2 separate regions of the Homo sapiens genome follow, and region 1 is linked to region 2. Evidence: promoter capture Hi-C in human tissues and cell types (Jung and others, 2019). All regions are on one chromosome and are shown on one strand. The core of a region is centred on a gene start or on the middle of the fragment in contact, and the rest is flanking DNA. Distances in the headings are between cores, read along the strand shown. Region 1 overlaps NCOA1 (nuclear receptor coactivator 1). Region 2 holds the start of PFN4 (profilin family member 4).

Evidence for each region. The method cuts DNA at HindIII sites, captures the fragments that hold promoters and counts their contacts. A contact is called where the count stands out against the background at its distance.
Region 1: a contact is called between a fragment that was not itself captured here and the fragment with the promoter of PFN4 in region 2, in 1 of the 25 tissues and cell types used here (hippocampus).

The regions. Positions count from the first base shown.
Region 1 is chr2:24,710,002-24,716,173 of GRCh38, forward strand. NCOA1 (nuclear receptor coactivator 1) reads left to right here. Exons shown (of 23, transcript NM_003743.5): 14 at 930-1,110. Among named protein-coding and RNA genes, the nearest start is that of PTRHD1, 80 kb to the right of the region's middle. The HindIII fragment of the contact is 3,280 bases long and covers 3,118-6,172 here.
Region 2 is chr2:24,118,431-24,124,713 of GRCh38, forward strand. PFN4 (profilin family member 4) reads right to left here and starts at 4,904. Exons shown (of 5, transcript NM_199346.3): 1 at 4,688-4,904; 2 at 3,989-4,117; 3 at 2,733-2,870; 4 at 1,147-1,252. The coding sequence starts at 4,105. FAM228B (family with sequence similarity 228 member B) reads left to right here and starts at 5,039. Exons shown (of 11, transcript NM_001145710.2): 1 at 5,039-5,103; 2 at 5,900-6,030. The coding sequence starts at 5,932. RefSeq lists a silencer at 4,971-5,470 and an enhancer at 5,541-5,790. The HindIII fragment of the contact is 15,112 bases long and covers 1-6,283 here.

The DNA of each region.
Region 1 (6,172 bases), core at 3,508-6,007, 590 kb after region 2:
GTGAAATAAAGGCCAGTTTTCTTCTCTACATAACCTAAGACAGATGTAGGAACTCCCTATTTATTCTTTTTTATTTTATTTTATTTTATTTATTTATTTATTTATTTTTGAGATGGGAGTCTCGCTCTGTAGCCCAGGCTGGAGTGCAGTGGCACGATCTCGGCTCACTGCAACCTCCGCCTCCCAGGTTCAAGTGATCCTCCTGCCTCAGCCCCACTAGTAGCTGGAGTTATAGGCACGTGCCACGATGCCTGGCTAATTTTTGTATTTTTAGTAGAGACGGGGTTGCCATGTTGGCCAGGCTGGTCTCGAACTTCTGACCTCAGGTGATCCACCCGCCTCAGCCTCCCAAAGTGCTGGGATTACAGGTGTGAGCCATGGCACCCGGCCTCCCTATCTATTCTAAAAGATATGTTTCTTATTAAGTCCTTAAGTGGGAAGTAACCATTGTGATATCTTTAAAGCTGATAAATAATTTATGAAAAAGTTTTCCAAACTTTTTTAAATTATAAAATAGTTGAATCAATATAAGTTTAAAGTAAGTCATTTTATGAAATTTTGAAAAATATGACAGGAAAAAGTCACCCATAATGCTATCATCATAACACAGTACTACTGACACTTTTTTCCAGTCCAATCTTTTTTTATACATAGATTTTTGTACCAAGATATAGTAGCCAAATATATGTGTATTATTTATATCCTGCAGTATATGAATACTATTATCAGAAGCATCCAAATATTTTCCCCATGGAATAGTTAGCTCATGTAATTTCCAAGTAGCCCCAATCATTCTAATTATTTCTTCTTTCTTCATTATCTCAAAGTCACACTGAATTCATAGAGTTTAAAGAAGCAGCATTTTTTTCTACGTTGTTTCAGGTGAAAGTGTAAAATATATTTCCTCTAACTTTGGTTTCCATTCTTAGTTTACAGCTGACCTTGACCAGTTTGATCAGTTACTGCCCACGCTGGAGAAGGCAGCACAGTTGCCAGGCTTATGTGAGACAGACAGGATGGATGGTGCGGTCACCAGTGTAACCATCAAATCGGAGATCCTGCCAGCTTCACTTCAGTCCGCCACTGCCAGACCCACTTCCAGGCTAAATAGTATGTTCTGGGGACAACACCTCATTTTAAACGTTTAGTGATAATGTGGATTAGCATTTTGTCTCTCACCAGTATTACACAGATCCTTTGCTTAAGAGTGAAATATCTTTTTATTAATGCCACTATAAATAATAAAACAGTTATATTTAGGCATGTGAACATCATTCATCATGTGTATTTTAAATTATGACCTCTATCCTTTTGTAATTAATGTTAAGGTGAGCAATTGATGTTAAGGAGAACAATTTTGTCGTCTCACCCAAAACACCCCATAACAGGACTTTCAGAAATACAGTATTGGGTCAGATTGTTTCCAGATATCTTCCTTGAAAACTAATCCTGTGAGTTGCAGAAATAAAAGATTCTGTACTAAAATACACTGGGCAAATGCTACATGTTCCATACATTTCATATTGATGTTTTAATGCCTATTAGCAGTTTTGAGAAGCCTTGTATTAAAGAATGTAGTTTAGATTTCTTTTACCCAACATTTCCCAAACTTTCCTGATTATGGAATTTCTTTTCTCAAGTAATACATGTTATACCACAGAATGAGTTTTCCATGAAGTTGCTTAGGAGACAACTGTGTTAAAATATGTTATTGTTCTAACCCAAGTTAGCATTTTCCTAGTTGAGAGACACTTTGATAGTTTAATACATTAAATTTATGAAGATAAGGCTGTCAGATTTTTTTGCCCATCACATTTTGATGTTGAAAAAACCAGTGGTAAGAATTCCATTGTATGACCTTGAAACTAAAGGAAACTAATCAGCCCACTTTCAAAATTAGTCTGGATTTTCAACGTTAGTTCTATCCCTTTTCTGATGGTATCATATGTGGGACTTCAGTTATTTCAGTCCAACTGGAACTTTTAACTGTCATGACCCAATTACTGATAGTTTGCCAGGATTTCAGACAGCTGCGAAGAATAATCTTGAATCCATCTGTGACATTTTTGGAGGCAGTATTTTAGCTGACCAGAGTATTAGAGGAAGAGTCAGAAGCCTAGATTCAAATCTCACATTCTCCAGTCATTAACAGTCTTACCTCAAGGAAGTACATTTTTTGAACCTTATTCTCTTTATCTGCAATATAAGAATTAGATTAAATGATTTTGAAAGTTTCTTCTAATAGAAGCAGTGAGGCTCTAGACTGGAATGTCAGTCACAATTGAGGAAACAGTAAGATGCAAGGCTGAAAAGAGATAAAATGAAAGTCTGCATATTGATTGATTTGGAGGTCTTTATCTCCTTCCCCATCCAATATGGGAGACTGGAAGAATTTTCTCAGGGGACATTGAATGGGCGGAAAGATGTCTGGATGTGAGTATATAAGTACAAAAGCCATTCTGCTATCTCATCATCCAACAATGAAGGCTCCCAGAAGAGACAAGCCTGGCACTCAGCCCTCCCAGTCCATGTTTAAGAACACTGACTGAACAGACACAGTCAAGAATCATCAGTACTTGGAGGAAACTCTGCAACTTGAAAGGGAGAAAAAGAAATAAACAGAAAAAGTATGCAGTGGAAATATATAATGAATGCATAAACCAAAAAAGAAAAAAACTACTAGAAATTTTAGAAAGATAAAAATGTATTACCCCTGAAAATATGGAAAGGGAAAAAAAGGGACAAAGAACAGAAAAAACTCTTGGAAATTAGGTATCCAACTTTTTTTTTTAATGAGGGAAATGTAAGATGATACAGCTGAGAAAAGCTTCCAGAAAGAACAAAAAGATGCTCCCAGAAAGACAAATGGGAAGTAGGGAAGAAAAAGTTAAGGAAATTACAAGGTCCACCTCAGAGGGCCAGTAATGATTAAGAATTACACAAACAGGCCAGGTGCGGTGGCTCACGCCTGTAATCGTGCACTTTGGGAGGCTGAGGCAAGCGGATCACCTGAGGTCAGGAGTTCAAGACCAGCTTGATCAACATGGTGAAACCCTGTCTCTACCAAAAATATACAAAAATTAGCTGGGCATGGTGGCAGGCACCTGTAATCCCAGCTACTTGGGAGGCTGAGGCAGGAGAATCACCTGAACCCAGGAGGCAGAGGTTGCAGTCAGCTGAGATCGTGCCATTGCACTCCAGCCTGGGCGACAAGAGCAAAACTCTATCTCAAAAATAATTAATTAATTAATTAATTTTAAAAATTAAATTTAATTTAAAAAAATAAAAGAATTACACAAACAAGGGTGGGAAACATCAAAAAATATAAGAGAATTTTCTGATTCCCCAGATTACAGTGTTTCAACAAGTACCCAACACAAATGGAAAAAAAAAGTACTTGTACCAAAGCTTGTCATCATATCATTCTGGAACATGAGAGATAAAGAAAAGATTCTAAAACCTTTCAGAGAGAAGTTAATTCCATACAGTGAATCAGGAATTTTCAAAGGTAATATTGGAACTAGAAGACATTTATGATTTGAGAAAAAGGACTTCTACTTTCAACTATGACAGCAATAATTGGCACTGGTCTAGTCCTCCCACTGTAAATAACGGGAAAAAGAGCAAATACATTAAACAATTCTTGTAAGCCAATAGATAATAGGCAGTGTGAGACTGTGATCTCTCTGAGAAGGAAGCAAGTCAGGTGAGCTCTACAATCATCTCAGCTTTTTTCTTGGAGATGTTTACCAAACCAAGTACAGGTAGGAGGAACCCAAAATAAGCACGGATATTTTACTAAACTCCGAAAATAGTGATAGGAGTTCAGTGACAGTGGGGCAGCTAGAACTTGCTGAACAAAGTACCCGAGAAGAGAAGGATATGTAGAAAATAGCAACAAAAATCTGAATCAGGGTTCTTTTCTATCCTTGGCTGAATACTACACTGTGCATGTATTCAACGATACTCCATCAGGTGGGGCAAAGAACAGTTTGTGAAGGAAGAACAACTATCAGGAAGGAGTGAGCTGAACAACTACCAGAACTCACACAAGATTGGAAGATAATCAAGTCCTGACCAATCAGAGTCGGTAGACCTTCTTGAACATCTGGGACATTTAGTGGAAAATGGCCTCACTTTAAGAGTGGATTTACCCTAGACCTGCTTTGACATCTTAAAAACAAACCTCAAAAGGATCAAGCTTATGTACAAGTAAATTAACTGTCTGAAAGAACACTATTCAATAGTTTTTAAAGAAGACACCAAAATTCAGACATTCAGCAGCATTATATTCATAATTTCCAACATATAATAAAAAAAATTAAGACACATGATGTAGCAAGAAACTGTGACCCATACCCAAACAAAGTCAGTTAATAGATCCAGAAATGACAGAGATGATAGAAGTAATAGAAAAAGATTTGAAAATAGCTATTCTAAATATGTTGAAGAACTTAAGGGACAACATGAACATAATGAGGGAAGAGATATAAACTACAAAAAAAAAGAGCCAAATAGAGCTGGTAGAGCTGAAAAATACAGTATTTAAAATGAAAAATTTGTTGGAGGAGCCTACCAGCAGATTAGACACTGCAGGAAAAAAAGAGCAATAAACATGACATAGTATTAGAAACTACTCAAATTAGAGGAGAAAAAGAATACCACAAAAGTATTGAAAGACCTCAGTCACCTGTGGAACAATACAAAGCAGTCTAGTATACACATAATATATAAATAATACATAATTATGGAAGAAGGGGGAGCAGGTGAAATTTTTGAAAAAACAGCCAAAATATTTACAAATTTGTGGAAATTTGTAAACCTACAAATCCAAGAGTTTAATGAATCCCAAGCAAAATAAACACAAAGAAAACTACTATAAGCCATGTCATAATCAAATTGCTGAAACAAAAATCTTAAAACCAATCAAAGAAAAATGACACATTATGTCAGATAAACAAGAAAAAACTTTCTATACTTAGTATCATTCAAAATGACACAGAGATGAAAAAAGATAGAAAATGATATAAGATGAACAAAGATAAGAAAACAACTAACTTTCTGTATCCAGTATCATTCAGAAATGCAGGTGAAATAAAGATGTTTTCAAACAAACCACCCTGAGAAAATTTGTCACCAGCAGATTACACTATTGTTCAAGCTAAAATAAAATGAATCCAGATGGAAACTCTAACCTACAGAAAATAATAAGAGAGCCAGATAAGTAAAGGTATGAATAAATGGAAAATTCTTTTTTCTCATTTGTTAGTTTCTTTAAATGAAAAATAACTGTTTAAAGCAAAAATAATAACAGTGAATTATATATGTAATATGTAGAAGAAAAATGTATGACAGTAATAGTACCAAAAATGGGGTAGAATAAATGAGACAATACTCTTTTCTACAAAATAGTATAATATTTGAGGCTAGAGGCTAAAGTTAAAAATGCATTTTTTTAACAGAAAAATATTCTATAAGTGTCCTGCATGTAGAAAATCCTAAAGAAGTGAGAGGAAAAGCTACTTGAACTAAATGAACTTAGCAAAGTCACAATATGTGTACTCAGTATTTTAAAAAATCAATTGTATTTCTGTATATCAGTTACATACAATTGGATAATGATATAGAAAAAGCAATTTACAAAATACATAAAATATTAAGACATAAATTTTAGATGGAATAACATGTGCATTACTCTACACTGAAAACTACTTTGCTGAGAGAAATTAGAGGGGGGCCAAATAAATGGAGAGGGATACCATTTTCATGGATTGTAAGACACAATTTTGTCAAGATATCAGTTATTCCAAAATCAACCCATGTAAATTTAATGTAATCCCAATAACAATCCCAGCAGGCGGCCGGGCGCAGTGGCTCACGCCTGTAATCCCAGCACTTTGGGAGGCCGAGGCAGGCGGATCACAAGGTCAGGAGATCGAGACCATCCTGGTTAACATGGTGAAACCCCGTCTCTACTAAAAAAATACAAAAAATTAGCCGGGCGTGGTGGCAGGTGCCTGTAGTCCTAGCTACTCGGGAGGCTGAGGCAGGAGAATGGTGTGAACCCAGGAGGCGGAGATTGCAGTGAGCCGAGATTGCGCCACTGCACTCCAGCCTGGGTGACAGAGTGAGACTCCGTCTCAAAAAAAAAAAAAAAAAAAAATCTGAGCAG
Region 2 (6,283 bases), core at 3,654-6,153:
TAATTCATTGATTTATTCATCAAACATGTACTAATTGCCTACCCAACATCAGACACTGTGTTAGGTAATGGAGAAAAAGAAGGATTAAGACAAGACAAATGCCTTCCAGGGATTCACAATCTAGATAAACAAAGAACTGTAATGGGGATAATCATAAAGGTATGCATAAAATACATACCACAATGGATAGAAGCCTGAGATCTGACTTGGTTCTTTAATGATGATTAGGAATTTGCAGAATAGATGTGAGGGACAGGAAGGAAACAGAAAATATTTTAGGCAGATAGAACAGCATGTACAGAGGCATGGAAGGCAGAAGCTATATCTTAACCAGCTCTGCTTCCCTAATTTATCTAGGATAGTGCAGGGCACATGGTAAGTACCTCTGAATGTTTGTTGAATGAATGAATGAATGAATGAGTGGCTGCTTTTGTTACTAGAGGCTTCTGTTTCAAAGGAGTGTTTATGCAACTCCAGTAAACTTTTTAAAATTTAAATTTAGATTTTGAAAAATCTAAACACAAACACAATTTACCATTTATTAAGCTCAACTCTCACCGATATAATACCCAAGCTAGTTCTCTATGAGATCTTTATTCAAAAATGTATAGACACGGAGGGGGAATGCAGTATATACCAACAAAGTGGCTGCCTGACTCACAGTAATTCCTTTTCCTGTAAAATGTCTCTTTATATAGGGTAGACCCCCAGCAGCCACATCTCTGCCTTTTTACCCTGCTGTCTCCCCCCTCCCCTATCCTGCCCCACCTACATAGCTGACTGATACAGGGGTAAACCATATGACCTGAAACTTGCCAAATCAGGGTCCTAAGAGAAATTAAGGGGTATTATGGGAGGCTTGGCCATGATATCAGCCAGGAAAGGAAACAGTTTGCTATGAGACAGAACAAAGCTGACTCATTTAGAAGTCAAGACAGAATCCTAGCAGTGTTCCAGTCCCTGAATCTACCTTCCCCATGGCTCAGCTGCACCCTGTCCTTCCAGTGGCTATGTAAATAACCTCAGCATCCTTCCAATAAATTCCTCCTTTCTGCCCTAGCTGGTTTGAGTTGGATCTCTGTTACTCGTAGTCGGAAGACCCAACTAACATAGGGAATGAAGACAGGAACTAGGAGGCCAACTTACCCAGGCTCTCTGTGGCTTCCACACAGATGCTAGGATACATGCCCTCAGTGTAAGTTGCTACCAGAAGATACAGATGGGTCTTCACGACAACCACACCAGTGTTCTCCTGTATAAAGAATATAAGAGAATATTCTGCTCTTGGTTCTAATCACAGGACCAGTGGTCATGCTCCAGCTACGTTTTTCACCATTTCCTGATTTCCATATGTTTGGAATATATATGGAATATACATATTCCGTATATATTTTCCATATGTTTATATATCTGTTTTTGGACTGTCCACTCTTTTCCACCAATTTAGTTGCCTTTCCTCAAAAAGTTTCAGACTGTTATAATAATGGTAGATGGATTTTGAAAAAGTTCTGCAATTGATTATCATATACCCCATCCCAATTAGAACAACTGATGTAGGCCGGGTGCAGTGGCTCCCGCCTGTAATCCCAGCACTTTGGGAGGCCAAGGCAGAAAGATCACCTGAGGTTGGAAGTTTGAGACCAGCCTGGCCAACATGGTGAAACCCCATCTCTACTAAAAATACAAAAATTAGCCAGGCGTGGTGGCAGGCGCCTGTAACCCCAGCTACTCGGTAAGCTGAGGCAGGAGAATCTCTTGAACCCAGGAGGTGGAGGTTGCAGTGAGCCGAGATCGTGCCATTGCACTCCAGCCTGGGCGACAAAAGTGAAACTCGTCTCAAAAAAAAAAACAACAACAAAACAAAACAAAACAAAACAAAACTGATGTAATGGAAAGGTCGTACATTTTGGAATTGGACAGCTCTGGGCTTGAATTCTAGTGCCTCCTTTTCTGCTGCATGAGTAAGGGTTATTTAACCTTGTTAAGCCTCAGTGTCCTCATCTGTAAAATGAGATTATTTAGTTTATAATGTGGATGAAGCAGCATGCCTAACCCATAATATAGGGCATCCAATGAATGATTTTCATCTCTTTCATTCCTTATAAGCAACAGAGAGCTGATTTTTTTTAAAATTTTTTTTTTGAGATGGAATTTCGCTCTTGTTGCCCAAGCCGGAGTGCAATGGCACGATCTCGGCTCACTGCAACCTCTGCCTTCTGGATTCAAGAAATTCTCCTGCCTCAGCCTCCCAAGTAGCTGGGATTACAAGGGCGCACCACACCTGGCTAATTTTCTTGTATTTTTAGTAGAAACAGGGTTTCACCATGTTAGCTAGGCTGGTCTTGAACTCCTGACCTCAGCCTCCCAAAGTGCTGGGATTACAGGTGTGAGCCACTGTGCCTGGCCACTGAGAAATGTTTTAAGCACAGAAATGATTATCTCTTTTTTTTTTTTTTTTAAAGGAGGATGTAGAGTATGAAGGTGGGACTGTATTGGAAAGAGTTCAGGCAAGGCTCAGTTAATAGATTCTGGAATGAACATTTCTCAAAACCAGGCTCTTGATAGGACTTTCTTTCACATATGTCTTCCTGGCACTAGACTGCTATCTCAAGACAATGGCTCAAGACATTAATGGATTTAATCTGTTTTACAGAAAGGATCAGGCAGAGCAAGGAAATTTGGAGGCAAATTCTTTTCTTTTACTCAGCTCTCTTCAAATCTTGAGCACTCACATTTTTGGCATAAAGAGAATATTCATCTGCCCGGACACATCTGTAATCTTTTCCCTTGAAATACAGTCCTTCTCTTCGGGCTTGCAAAGGGTTCTTGGCAAATCCATTCACCAGTGTTCGGACATCACTGGGCGTTACCTGGAGAGGTTACATGGTTAGAGCAGGAGTCAGCCAACTATGGCTGGTGGCCAGCCAAATTTAGCCCACTACCTGTTTTTTATGGCCTGCAAGCTAAGAATGGTTTTCATGTTTTTAAATGGTTGGGGAAAAAAAATCAAAAGAATAACACTTCGTGACACTTACAAATTATATGAAATTCAAACTTCAGTATCCATAAATATAAAATTTTATTGGAACACAGTCACATTCATTCTTTTATGTATGGCTGTTTTTCCTCTACAATTGCAGAGTTGAGTGGTTGTGACAGAGACTCTACGGCCCTGTGCTATAGTTTGAATCTCATGTTGAAATCTGATTCCCAGCGTTTTCGGTGGGGCCTAATGGGAGGTATTTGGATCATGAATAGACTGATGCCCTCCCTGCGAGCTGGGGGAAGCTGTGAGTTTTCACTGTATTTGTTCCAGGAGAGCTGGCTCTTAGAAAGAGCCTGGCACCTCTCCACTTGCTCTCTCTTGCTTCCTCTCCCCCACTGTGATCTCTGCACATGCTGGCTCCCCTTCACCTCTGCCATGAGTGGAAGCAGCCTGAGGCTTTCACAGATGACCAGTCTTCCAGGCAGTAGAACTGTGAGCCAAATAAACCTCTTTTCTTTATAAATTACCCAGCTTCAGGTATTCCTTTATATCAACAGTAAAAAGACTAAGCCTAGAAACCTAAAATATTTATGTAGCTCTTTACAGAAAAAGTTCATTTAAAAGTCATGTCTGGGCTGGGCACGGTGGCTCATGCCTGTAATCCCAGCACTTTGGGAGGCCGAGGCAGGTGGATCACCTGAGGTTAGGAGTTTGAGACTAGCCTGACCAACATGGTAAAACACCATCTCTACTAAAAATACAAAAATTAGCCGGGCCTGGTAGCGCACTCCTGTAATCCCAGCTACTCGGGAGGCTAAGGCTCAAGAATCGCTTGAGAGGCGGAGGTTGCAGTGAGCTGAGATCATGCCATTGCATCCCAGGCTAAGCAACAAGAGTGAAATTCCGTCTCAAAAAAAAAAAAAAGTCATGTCTGCTTCATTTTTTGGAAGAATAGAAATAATAAGTAAATCAAGTCTTAGGTCCAAACTTGTTTTTTCTTACATTGAAACCTGGTGATGCTACACACAAGCTCCGCTCCTGGATTTTGATGAGGGCTGCACTGTCCACATGCTTGGTTCCCAAGAGGGTGTCTAACAATAAGCTCTGCAAATGGCTCATGTTCCCTCAACTCTGAAAGGGAAAGTGCAGTTGAAGCCATTGACTCTGGCTAGCTTTTAAAAGGCATGTGAATACAAATGTCCTTAAGACACTGCAGACAGTTCTAAGATCAGCAAGTGTACTTTGAAAAGGTACAGGGTGAAAACGGTGGTCCATCATTCAGGGCCCACCAGTACCCAAAGAGGAAAACAGAATCATAGAAAAATCACAGCTCACACAGAATAGGTTATGAAGCTGAGTTTGGAAAATCACAGCCTGGTGATTTTCTGGCTATGTCAATGGTTTACATCAGGATTATCTGCGATTTAAAAACAAACATTACACACTGAGAAAAACTCTGTAAAATAAAAAATAAAAACAAAAAACAAAACCCAGCCAGGATGGAGAGCTACCCTGCTAAGTTAAACACGACTAAAAGAGATTATGCGTGGCCATAAACCCACACATTCCCTTCCCGGTGACCTGCATCAGCGCCAGCTATGAACGCTGATCAACATCCCAATGGACTAAAAACACCTTGAAGGCACTTAAACCCACATTTCCCGCACAAGTCCCCAAGCCTTGGACCCCCCTCATCAGGACCTCCGGCACAGGCGCCCGTTTCCCGCCACTGCCTTCCAGTGGTTTGGTCCCCGAGCAGGACCCAAGGCGGGGCAGGGGGTGGTGAGCGGTGAATTCCCTGGCACCGAGGACTCGAGGGAGCGGACGCCACCCCGCTCTGTGGTGCCCGCAAGGACCCGGCGACCAAGGACCCGACCGTCAACGGACGCGGTTGCGGGTGGGTGGCGGCGGCAGGATTGGCCGGGCCACGCGCCGGTCACCGAGAAGCAGCGACTCCAGCCCCTTCCGCAAACCAAGACCCGCCACCTAGAGCCGCCGCCCAATCCCCTTTGGGCCTGAAGCCGTCCTCCGCCGCCCCGGCACCGCCCGCGCGGACTCGCTGTGGAACCCGCGGCGCAGGGGGCGGAGTGCTCGCGCGGCGCTGCGTCCGGGAGACGGTGGGCGCCAACATTCGCGCGTTCCGCAGACGCGGGCGGGCTCCCTTCCAGCCGCAGTCGGACGGCTCCGGGGTCGTCGGGCCGGGCCCGAGTGTGTAGCAGGACGGCCGCGGGCCTGCTGGCCTTGGGAGGGCAGAGAGGTGCCTGTCGCGGCCGGCGACCTCCCCGCCAGGCCGGGCGGTCCCCGCGCACGACGCGCCTGCGCGGGAGGCCCCCGGCCCGGGGCTGGCGTGGAGGCCGCAGGCGCCCGGCCTAGTGGGTGGGAGGAAGGGCCGGGAGTGGGCGCGATGAGCGAGAGCGGGTGCGGACGCCTACGACATCCCCGTCGCACCCGTGCCTCGGGGAGGACTTCGAGCCGCTCAGAGCTCGAAGACTCGCGCAGTATGACCGAAAGCCCCTCCCTGCCTTCTCTAAGCAGCTCAGCCTGTGTTTCTGTGGCCAGAAAGTTGCAGTTCTTCCCACTCGAGGCCACCAAAGTCAGAAAAGTGTTGCAAATGGGACTCCGAGAGGCCAGGCTGAAGCTGCCACACTGGCTGGAATGGGCTGCCTTGGAGGGGGACGTGGGAATCCATTCCAAGGGACGGGGGATTCTTTCAAAGAGCATCTCGCCTGCTTATAAAGGAGGCTGGCTCTGAAGCCGTCATCTGGAGTCTGTAGTGAAGGCCTCTTGTTAGGGAAACTGGATGGTTAGTGTTCAAAATCCATTTTGCGTGTGTGCAAGGACACAGGTGGTATTAAACAGAAGAGAAAATCAGATGACTGTGAAATGTTCAATACTAAATAAGATGATTTTTAGTTTTTCCAGGGGCATTGTTATTTGTGACCACAATGAAAAATGTAGACAGTGATGATCTGGTAACTGGCACACTTCCCAAGCTCAAGAGCTCAAAAGAATGGTTGGAGCCCAAGCCCCTTTGTTTTATGGAGGTATATATCAAATAGTGTGGGATTTGGAGATTTTTTTACTTGGATCGTTGCAGTAGGAAGTGGCTTGTGCTAAATATATTGTTTTTTCTATTGTTTGTTTTTATTTCATTCTGTTTATTATTCCCTTCACTTTACTAACTTTGTATATTCACTTTGCTGTTTTTTTCTAACATCTTAAGGTGGAATCATAGGTCATTGATTATATACCTTTTAAAATGTAACATAGCTATAAGTTTCTCTTGAGGTACTGCCT